Linked DNA regions of Homo sapiens: all the other regions are linked to region 1. Evidence: promoter capture Hi-C in 16 types of primary human blood cells and fetal thymus (Javierre and others, 2016). All regions are on one chromosome and are shown on one strand. The core of a region is centred on a gene start or on the middle of the fragment in contact, and the rest is flanking DNA. Distances in the headings are between cores, read along the strand shown.

Region 1 (3,098 bases), core at 358-2,857:
GACACAGTGGCTTACCTACGCCTGAAATCCCAGCACTTTGGGAGGCGAGGTGAGAGGATTGGTTGAGTCCAAGAGTTGGAGACCAGCCTGGGCAACAAAGTGAGACCCCACCTCTACAAAAAATTAGCCGGATGTGGTGGGGTCTGTAGTCCCAGCTACTCTGGAGGCCGAGGCAGGAGGTTCACTTGAGCCTGGGAGGTTGAGACTGCAGTGAGCCGTAATTACGCTACTACACTGTAGCCTGGGTGACAGAGCAAGACCCTATATCAAAATAAAAATAAATAAAACAAAACAAAAACAAATCCAATCTCCTTTCATCTTAGCATTCAGGGACCTCAAAATCTGGTCCCAGACTTCTTTTGATTTCATCACTATCTTCTTTTATGTGCTCAATAAATTTAAACGATTATTATACTCCAATCCAACCAAGAACTGCTTAGGGATTCCCATTTTCTTTTTTTGGGGGGAGGGATGGAGTCTCGCTCTGTTGCCCAGGCTGGAGTGCTGTGGCATGACCTCGGCTCACTGCAACCTCCGCCTCCCAGGTTCAAGTGATTCTCCTGCCTCAGCCTCCCGAGTAGCTGGGACTACAGGCGAGAGCCACCACGCCCGGCTAATTTTTGTATTTTTGGTTTCACCATATTAGCCAGCCTGATCTCGAACTCCTCACCTTGTGATCCTCCTGCCTCCCAAAGTGCTGGGATTACAGGCGTGAGCCACCGCGCCCTGCGGGATTCCCATTTTCTTTTTGTCTTTGCTGCAACCATCTCCTCCCTAGGCAAAGCCCAGGGATCCTTTAGATCCAAACCAATTCATCTCTTCATCAACCACCCGCCACCCATCCCAAACAAAAACATTTAACCCTAAATCTTTGTAAATCCCGTTTACAAGACACCAAGCAACCTAATCTGCATTACAATAATCGGGGTGGGTGTCTAGCTTCTCCAACAGAGCTGTAAACTCCTTAGGGTGTAGGTAATTTGTCATTTATCAGATGACACCTCCCCCGCCCTCTGCTGCTGCAGGAAGAACCAACTAAAGCATGAATGAATGAAAGCCTGCACACACCAGGGGCCCGCCTCAACCCTCCTCCTCTCTTGGAAACACGCCTCCTGCGGGAGGCAGCGGGAGGAGGTTCACGCGGCATGACCGCGCTCTTGTCCTCCCGACGGCCTCGGAAGGTAAGGGGCGACGGGGGCCGGCTGGAAGCTTGGCGGGGCACGTCACCCACTGACCCGGCCACTCACCAGTGCACCAACACCGCACGGCCCTCAGCGCGGGCCTGACCGATGAAGGCCACGCACCGGTCCAGATGGCTGAGTAGGTCCGTCTCGGGTTTGTCCAGCGCTGGCACGAAGAGGCGCCATAGATCCTCGACCCCAGGCCCCGCCTTGAAGCTGGGCTCCTCCGAGTCCACTGTTAGCACGGCCGTGATGCCCGCTTCCCTCAGGTGATCTGGCTCCGCGACGGCCGCGGCCCCACCGAAATACAATCCTGGCTGCACTTCCAGCATCTGCCCGGCACAGCTGACTCTGCTGGCGCTGGGGTTGCTGAGCTCGCAGCCATCACTCGGGCCCGGAGCCTCCAACATGGCCGCGCCCAGAGACAAGGCGGCTTCCTGCCCTACCATCGAGTAGACTCCGGCTAGAACATCCTTCCCCTGGGACTCGCCAGCCTCGGCGGCTCTGCTGCTCCCTCGGAGGACCACGTCGGCCGCAGGAATCTGGACTTATCGCTGAGGGGCGGAGCTTCGGCCCCATTCAGCGCGGCCTTTCCACCCTTGTTCCCTCTGACCCCTACCCCCAAAGTTGATGGTGAAGGATAAGCTTCCCCAAATACAGGGTTTCTCGAGCTCTTAGTATTGAAATTTTCAGGAAAGAGACATCAGGAGCAGCTGAACTCAAATGTGAAATAAATGTCGCACCAGCTGAATCAGAAGCATCATTTTATGCATTTGAAGTAAAATTTTTTTCAATATTATGGAGCCATCTTTACTGTGCATTTCATGATTATTTTTCCTTTTTCTGCCCAATTTCATTATTGGGGTGTGAATCCTTGTTGATGTTTACTGTCTATTTATTTTGAAGATACTAATCCTATATTTTTGTAAGTCAATGTCCTCCGGCCAGGACTACAAGAAACCAACTTTAATTAAGCAAGTTGGTTTTATTACTCAGTCATGAGTTATGGAGAATTTCAGGGCATCTCAGCACGAGGATGTTAGGAAGATCCTCTACAGATTTTGGGCTTTTATTTGGGGATTTTGGAAAGGGTTGAAGGAAGCAGGCTTTGCTCCAGACTGAATGCTGCAGGAAGATACTCAGTACAGTGAGTATATTTTATATATCTTTTGTATAGGGAGGACAGGTGAGAGAGATACTAAAGCTGTAATTGGTCAAGAAGTAGCAGCTATAGTACTGGTATAAAGATAGATACATCGACGTGTCTCTATTCTGGAACAGAACAAACCCTTGCGTGTGGAGTCCTAATTAGGGAAAAGGAGTCAGGCTGGCTGGACGAAGGGAAGCAAAAGGAGAAAGCAGACAAGCCATAAGTCTGCCTTTCTTCGTGGTCCAGGACACATAGCCCTGCTGTGCAAATAACTCACAATCTGCCTGTGCCCAGCCATCACCAGACCCTCAGCTGATAGAAAAATGGAAGTTAGTTCACTGCAACCCTGGCATTATTAGTACTGCACAAAGCCCTCTTCCACCCACAACATAAGCACCATTCTACAAAATCCCCAGCAAGCCTTTGTTTCCTAGCAGTCAGCTTCTCTCTTGCTGACCTGCCTGTTGCACCCTTGCAATGTATTTTCATACTTTATCTAATAAACCTGCCTTTCTTTACCTACAACTGTGTTGGTAAATTCTTCCTACCACCCATGTCACCAGCCCAGAAAGCTGCTAATCACCTGCAACACTGCATATATGTTAGAATAATCTTCAAAAAGAGTGCCAAGACCACACAATGGAAAAAGGACAATCTCCTCAACAGTGTTGGGAAAAACTAGATATCCACATGCAAAAGAATGAAGATGGACCTTTACCTTGGACCATACACAAAAAATAACTCCAAATAGATTAAAGACCTAAAAA
Region 2 (3,088 bases), core at 425-2,924, 210 kb before region 1:
AATAAGATAATATAGTTAATAAACCAGTGTCAGAGGTAATCATTGGGTGCTCAGTAAATGCCTGCATTAATTACTCCTGGATGGATCCCTTGCTGTCAGTCTGCAGTGACTAGCTTCAGGTGTGGTGGCATTTGCCATTGCAAGCTGGGAAGAGGCCTTTGGTGAGGACAAGATGCGTGACCGAGTAACCCACTTTCCTGAAGACATAGATAAAATATGGGTTTTTAGATTTTTTTTTCCTTGATAAGATTGTAGTTTAAATATCTGGACACTTAAATAAAGGAAATTTTTACTTAATTAGGCTTGGGAGAAGAGTGGAAAATAGTTCAACAGTTTCATCTGAACAGTAACACAAGCCACAAAGCCTTTTCAGGCTTCCTTTCCCATTACTAACCCCCCAACACTGAAGATTCATTTGGGGGCTTTTTTCTCTCTTTCTACATACAGAATAAACAAGGTAAGTTTAAAAATTCTTTATTTGAATTTTAGAGAAATAACAGGTAGTATAAAGACTTGCTTGAAAGTATGAAATAGTCTGTTGTTATTATTTCTTTAGGTTTTGCAAACCAACATCATTATTAAGGGAGAGAATGGTACATCTCTCCTCCTCATCTTTAACACGTTCTTCAATTGGCATGGGTACAACCTGAGCAAAAAGATCCTGGTGAAATGGCATCTCTAACACTCCCCCCTCAGTTCTAATGGCTCCATGGATGAAGCCCTACTGGACTTAGACCATCCATACTTGCCAAAGTGGTAACAGGAAACCAGTGCCTCTAAGGCTAGTAGTGCATAGTAGTTTTCATCTAAAGCTCTGTTTCCCCATCATCTCCTCTGTCCTGGTGACTGGCCTGGAAATTATGGCAAGGATGAGTTAAAATGGATCAATATACAATTGCTGTGAAAGTCAACCTACTAATCTCTAGCTGGGATTAACATAAAGGGGATATGCCAAGCCTCCTGGTTTATTCAACTTCATTGAGAGCAAACAGCACAATAGTGTTGTTTGTTGGCCTTGGCAAATGATAAATTATGATTTATTTACTCCTTAGTTACCAAACCTAATATAATTAAAAGTATTTTAGTGTGCTAAATCCCTAATGCTTAAAGTTAGCAAACCAATATGTTGAGAATGGCACCCACTATGTGACAGTGGCTGGCCATGACATGGATTCATGCGTAAGATCAAATTTTCTAATCAGATACCTTTGTCATTCTTCTTTTCATAAATTCTATTGCATCTAATAACACACATATTAGAACAAATGGCCGAAAGTTCTAGTCTTACCCAAAATAAACTGTTTAAAGCTTAGTCATTAAAAAGATAAGAACAGAACACACTTTACTTTCTTTTTTTTAGGTAGGAGAAAACTGCATTTCTTTTACGAGCATAGTTCCTTTTGGATTCTGGCAACATCTTTTTGGGTAGTCTAGTATTGTTTCCTAGGAAATTAAAAATCAATCCCAATCCCTGTGGGTGGAAGAAAATGGGAATATTCACTTCCAAATGTTATTAGGGGTGGGAACGAACATTTCTTATATTTCATTCTCTTTTAGGCTTTATTCTTGTTTCTAAAAGTTATAATTGGTATTCATATTAGCAGCAACAATCCTAATTTCTGTAAGTTAAAATGACTCAGGACTGATGAAAATAACATTTGTGGTAAGGAATATGGAGTCCACAGGTGGTAATAAGTGTCTATCAATTTTGGCAATTCACAATCTTATTTAAGAGGTTAATTGGTATGAAATAGCCAATAGTATGAAAAGATCTCAGTCGGCTGAAGGAAGCTGAGTCAGCCCATCAGTATGCAGTGGAAAGAGGGCTTTCATGGCTGGAAAATTTCCCATGACTTCAGAGTGAAAGGGGGCATCAGATCAGGCTCTAACTCTTCAGGCTGTGAAAGCAAAAGTGGTTACTTCTAATATGTTGTTGAAAGTGAAAGTCACTTTGAAACTTTGCAATGTGTTAGAAAGTCAAATACAATTATAAGTTTTTCCTGTAATACATTTCTGTCAAGTTTCACAACCTAAGCTTGGTAAAATGGCAAGAATCAAAAAATAGTAGGAAAGTGGCAAAGAGCTTGAGAGTTTTCCAGTTTTAACGATGCTAAATGCCACCACGGCAGTCTCACCAGCATCTCGCTGCGGTGACTACCGGGGAATACACACAGGGGAGGAAGGTTCAGGCTAAGATTTAGTCAGGATGATGTCTCTTTAAAAATGATTTGAAAAATCAATTTGAATCCCAAGTTCCTTTTCTGTTTCTAAACTTACTTGGAACACTTAAGAATGACTCACATAACATTGCTTTCAAATACCTCCGTGTCAACTTCTTACTGGCAAGAAATGGCAAAGAAATGCCAGTTTTGTGCTGGAACTTGTAGTCATTAAAAAAAAAAATTAGATGATGCTCTGAGTTTTATAATCGTGAGGGATTTTTTACTTGTGAAAACACAAATCCCACCCAAAACTCCATGTGAAGTTTCTGTACTACAAGCATGGCAAACAGCAGATTTGTTTCAAGGATGATCCTTTCACATTAACTCCTAACTTTGGAGTTAGTTTACACTAACACTCTAATGAAGCTGTGTCCCTGTACTGCTGGGCATAAGTCAACCCCAAAGGGACAAGCTCCTAACATCTGATTCAGTAGTTAACATGAGGAAACATCCACTTACTTCCATTAACCCTTAAAAATTTGGGACTTGCAACCAGGCAGAAAGACTATTCCCATCAGTCTCTACCATCACTTCCCAAGAGTGTATTATTGTCAGCCCCAAGAGCACAAAATCATCTAATAACAGGAGGACCTGCCTCCTCCATGAGTTTATCTAATTGTCTCATAAGCTTGCACAATCCTGTTTAAAATTTAATAAATAAAAAAATACACACATTACCCACAATTTCTGGCTGCAACCCCCAAAAGGCAATCCCACCAAAAAAAAAAAAAAAAATTAATCTGGCATGGCAACTTCTCATTTCCTAAAGGGCCTTGTGCATACAAACATTAAAATAAAAACTACAATTGTGCCTAGGGATTAATTATAGCTTTGCCAGCAATTTAAAAAGTGACTACTTCTTTGCA
Region 3 (2,773 bases), core at 26-2,525, 220 kb after region 1:
TGAAATGATCCCAAAGATTCCTCAAGAGTTGGAAGTTTACAAAGGAAGGAAGGGAGGAAAGAACCATCAGAATTTAATCCCTTCAAAAAACGCCTGGGTTTAGAAAGAGGCCAGGGGAAAGACAGGAAGCGAGTACGGAAAGTGAGGTATTGCTGCAGTTTCGTTGAAGCGTAAAACGGATACTTCGTTGAGGCGTAAAACGGATACACAGCGCGTTATAGGTTCTGACTGAGAAAGGTTTTTCGTAGAAGGAAAGACAAAAACCCTTGCGTTGGCCGGGAATCGAACCCGGGTCAACTGCTTGGAAGGCAGCTATGCTCACCACTATACCACCAACGCGTACCCGGTTTGGAGTTTTAGATATCTATATATAAGATAAGCAAAGCGTATGACTTTCCCGACCGTTCTAGCAGTGTCTTTTGTTTATGATCCTGAGGTTAAACAAGCTAAGCCCTCCATTGGTGAGAACCGATTCTTATGAATCAGCCCCGCCCCGCAAACGGCGCGGGGCGGTGAACGCAGAAGCCACCGGCTCTGGAAGCTGGAGGGCGGAGCCGGCTCACAGCCGAGAGAGAAAGCCGCAGTTGAGCATCGCCGGGGGATTTTCCTCCGCCGTCTTCTCTTCCACCCCGCTCTCTTCATGTCCCGTAGCTCCCAGCTCCGCAGCTGTTCGAGACTCCGCACTGGATCCGCCGGGTGTCGGATTCAGCAACAGTGATTGGTGCGGAGGATCCGAGGGAGACGGGCCGACACAGGGTCTACCTTGACATGGCTCGACCCCTCTACAGAAGCAGAGGGGCGCTCGAAGAGTCGCCAGGGAAAATGGAGCCTTAAGGATTAGTTTGGGTAGTGAGGAAAGAGGAAAGAGCTGTCGGAGCCTGTTTCATTTTTCCCGCTTTGCGACAAGGTCTAGAGAGAGTTACAATTTTATTTGAAACAGTAAATAGACACATTAATGTGACCTGATAGCGTGCACCATCAGTATATGATAAAATTAGGAGAAATTAGGAAGCATGGTAAAACATGTGTCAGGATGGCCGAGCGGTCTAAGGCGCTGCGTTCAGGTCGCAGTCTCCCCTGGAGGCGTGGGTTCGAATCCCACTCCTGACAATATGTGTTTTCCGTCCTTACTTTTCCTCCTGATTTGAACCAACCAGCAATTATGTTTGAATTCTTAGAGAAAGACTTTTCGATCGGTCAACACTGCCTTTTATCCTAGGTATCTACATTTACGAAAATTATTTGTGCTTCTCTGCACATATAGAACTATATCTATTTTTCCTGTATTGTAGGCTGGAGTCTGGTCTATGAAATCAGGGAGCAGTTGAGACTAAGATTAACTTTGGACTCCAACTTCCCAGTGTCAATTTATCCATTCTTTTATTCAACAACAATGTGTTGAGCCCTTTCTGTGCGTCAAGCACACTAAGGCAGGCAGATACCATCTCCTTTGACTAAACAAGAGAACGCCCTCAACTCAGGATCCTTTAATTTGCTCTACAGTCTTAGCTGGGTTTTTTTTTTTAACGCTAACGCAGTAGTGTCAAACTTTGGTAAGGATCAGGTTCTCCCACCGCCTTGCCCCGCTCCCCAGCCTTTTTTTTTTTTTTTTTTTTTTTAGACAGGGTCTCACTCTGTACCCCAGGCTGAAGCACAGTGGCTCAATCTTGGCTCACTGCAGCCTCCGTCTTCCCGGTCCACGCGGTTCTCGTGCCTCAGCCTCCCAAGTACCCGGGGTTCGCGCCTGTAGTCCCAGCTACTCCGGGAGCCTGAGGCGAATCTCTTGAGCCCAGGGGGCAGAGGTTTTTGTGAGCCGAGATCGGCTGACTCCAGGCTGCACTCCAGCCTGGCGTACAGAGTGAGACCCTGTGTCCAAAAAAAAAAAAAGTAACATGAATAAAATCTACAGTTAGTCATTAATGTTATACCAATGCCAATTTCTTAGGTTTGATAAATATAACATGGTTATGTAAGGTTTTAACATTAGGGGAAGTAGAAAGGATATAGAGTAATGACTTTATGTAGTATCTTTGCAACTTGTCTGTTCATCTAAAATTATTGCAAAATCAAAAATTCTTTTAAAAAACCAACAACTTGAAAGTGGTTGCCTGTGAGGAGTAGGACCTGGGAAGGGGGCAAGAAACTGCTTGTACCAAGAATTGATTTTTTTAATAATGGGCATGTGTTCTGATTTAATTTGTTCAAACTTTTTTCCCCCCCTTTGGAACTGGGTGACATAGTTGTGATTACAATAATCAAACTAAGACTACATACAATATAAGGATTTTTAGATACCTAGTATACAAGAAACAGTCCCCAAAGAAACTAAACCAAAATGATCAACAGACGTTTAAAAGTAAATAAAGTTTGTTTATATTTCTCTATAGAAAAATAGATTGCACTCAAATGGGAGGATCTGAGATGTCACAACTAAACACGATAAAAATCTTTCTTCTTATATTCTGTGTGTGTTGGGTTTTTTAAAAGGATAAAAGGCATACTATCAAAATACTAAGAAACTATAAAAAAGTGAGTACTATCAATCCTCTTGAGAAGTTCAAACAGGTTGAGGGGGGTCAATGTTGAGAATTGAGATGAGATTCAGGAAAGGAAGAATGTAATGCAGGATGTACGTGTTACTCCATCTCTCTCTCTCTTTTTTTTTTTTTTCAGGTTCCTTCCATGTGAAGCCAGGCTGCGTAAGACTTGGGCCAGGGCCAGGAAAAGAGGGCAGTTAAAAATGTGAAATGACAGCCAGGGACAAGTGAGTTGT

Evidence for each region. Contacts are between HindIII fragments. The CHiCAGO score rates a contact against its expected background, and 5 or more counts as called.
Region 2: a contact is called between a fragment that was not itself captured here and the fragment with the promoter of DUSP12 in region 1, in 1 of 17 cell types (activated CD4 T cells). The highest score is 5.2, in activated CD4 T cells.
Region 3: a fragment that was not itself captured here is called in contact with the fragment with the promoter of DUSP12 in region 1 in 16 of 17 cell types (naive CD4 T cells, total CD8 T cells, total CD4 T cells and 13 more); the score reaches 17.7 in naive CD4 T cells.

What each region holds. Positions count from the first base shown.
Region 1 is chr1:161,748,295-161,751,392 of GRCh38, reverse strand. It overlaps DUSP12 (dual specificity phosphatase 12), which reads right to left and starts at 1,607. Exons shown (of 6, transcript NM_007240.3): 1 at 1,248-1,607. The coding sequence starts at 1,591. RefSeq lists enhancers at 591-1,237, 1,299-1,808. The HindIII fragment of the contact is 617 bases long and covers 1,212-1,828 here.
Region 2 is chr1:161,961,441-161,964,528 of GRCh38, reverse strand. ATF6 (activating transcription factor 6) reads right to left here. Exons shown (of 16, transcript NM_007348.4): 16 at 459-3,088. Among named protein-coding and RNA genes, the nearest start is that of OLFML2B, 61 kb to the left of the region's middle. The HindIII fragment of the contact is 727 bases long and covers 1,311-2,037 here.
Region 3 is chr1:161,528,679-161,531,451 of GRCh38, reverse strand. It overlaps TRL-CAG1-6 (tRNA-Leu (anticodon CAG) 1-6), which reads left to right and starts at 1,028; the gene lies at 1,028-1,110. TRG-TCC2-6 (tRNA-Gly (anticodon TCC) 2-6) reads right to left here and starts at 339; the gene lies at 268-339. RefSeq lists a silencer at 315-374. The HindIII fragment of the contact is 5,205 bases long and covers 1-2,773 here.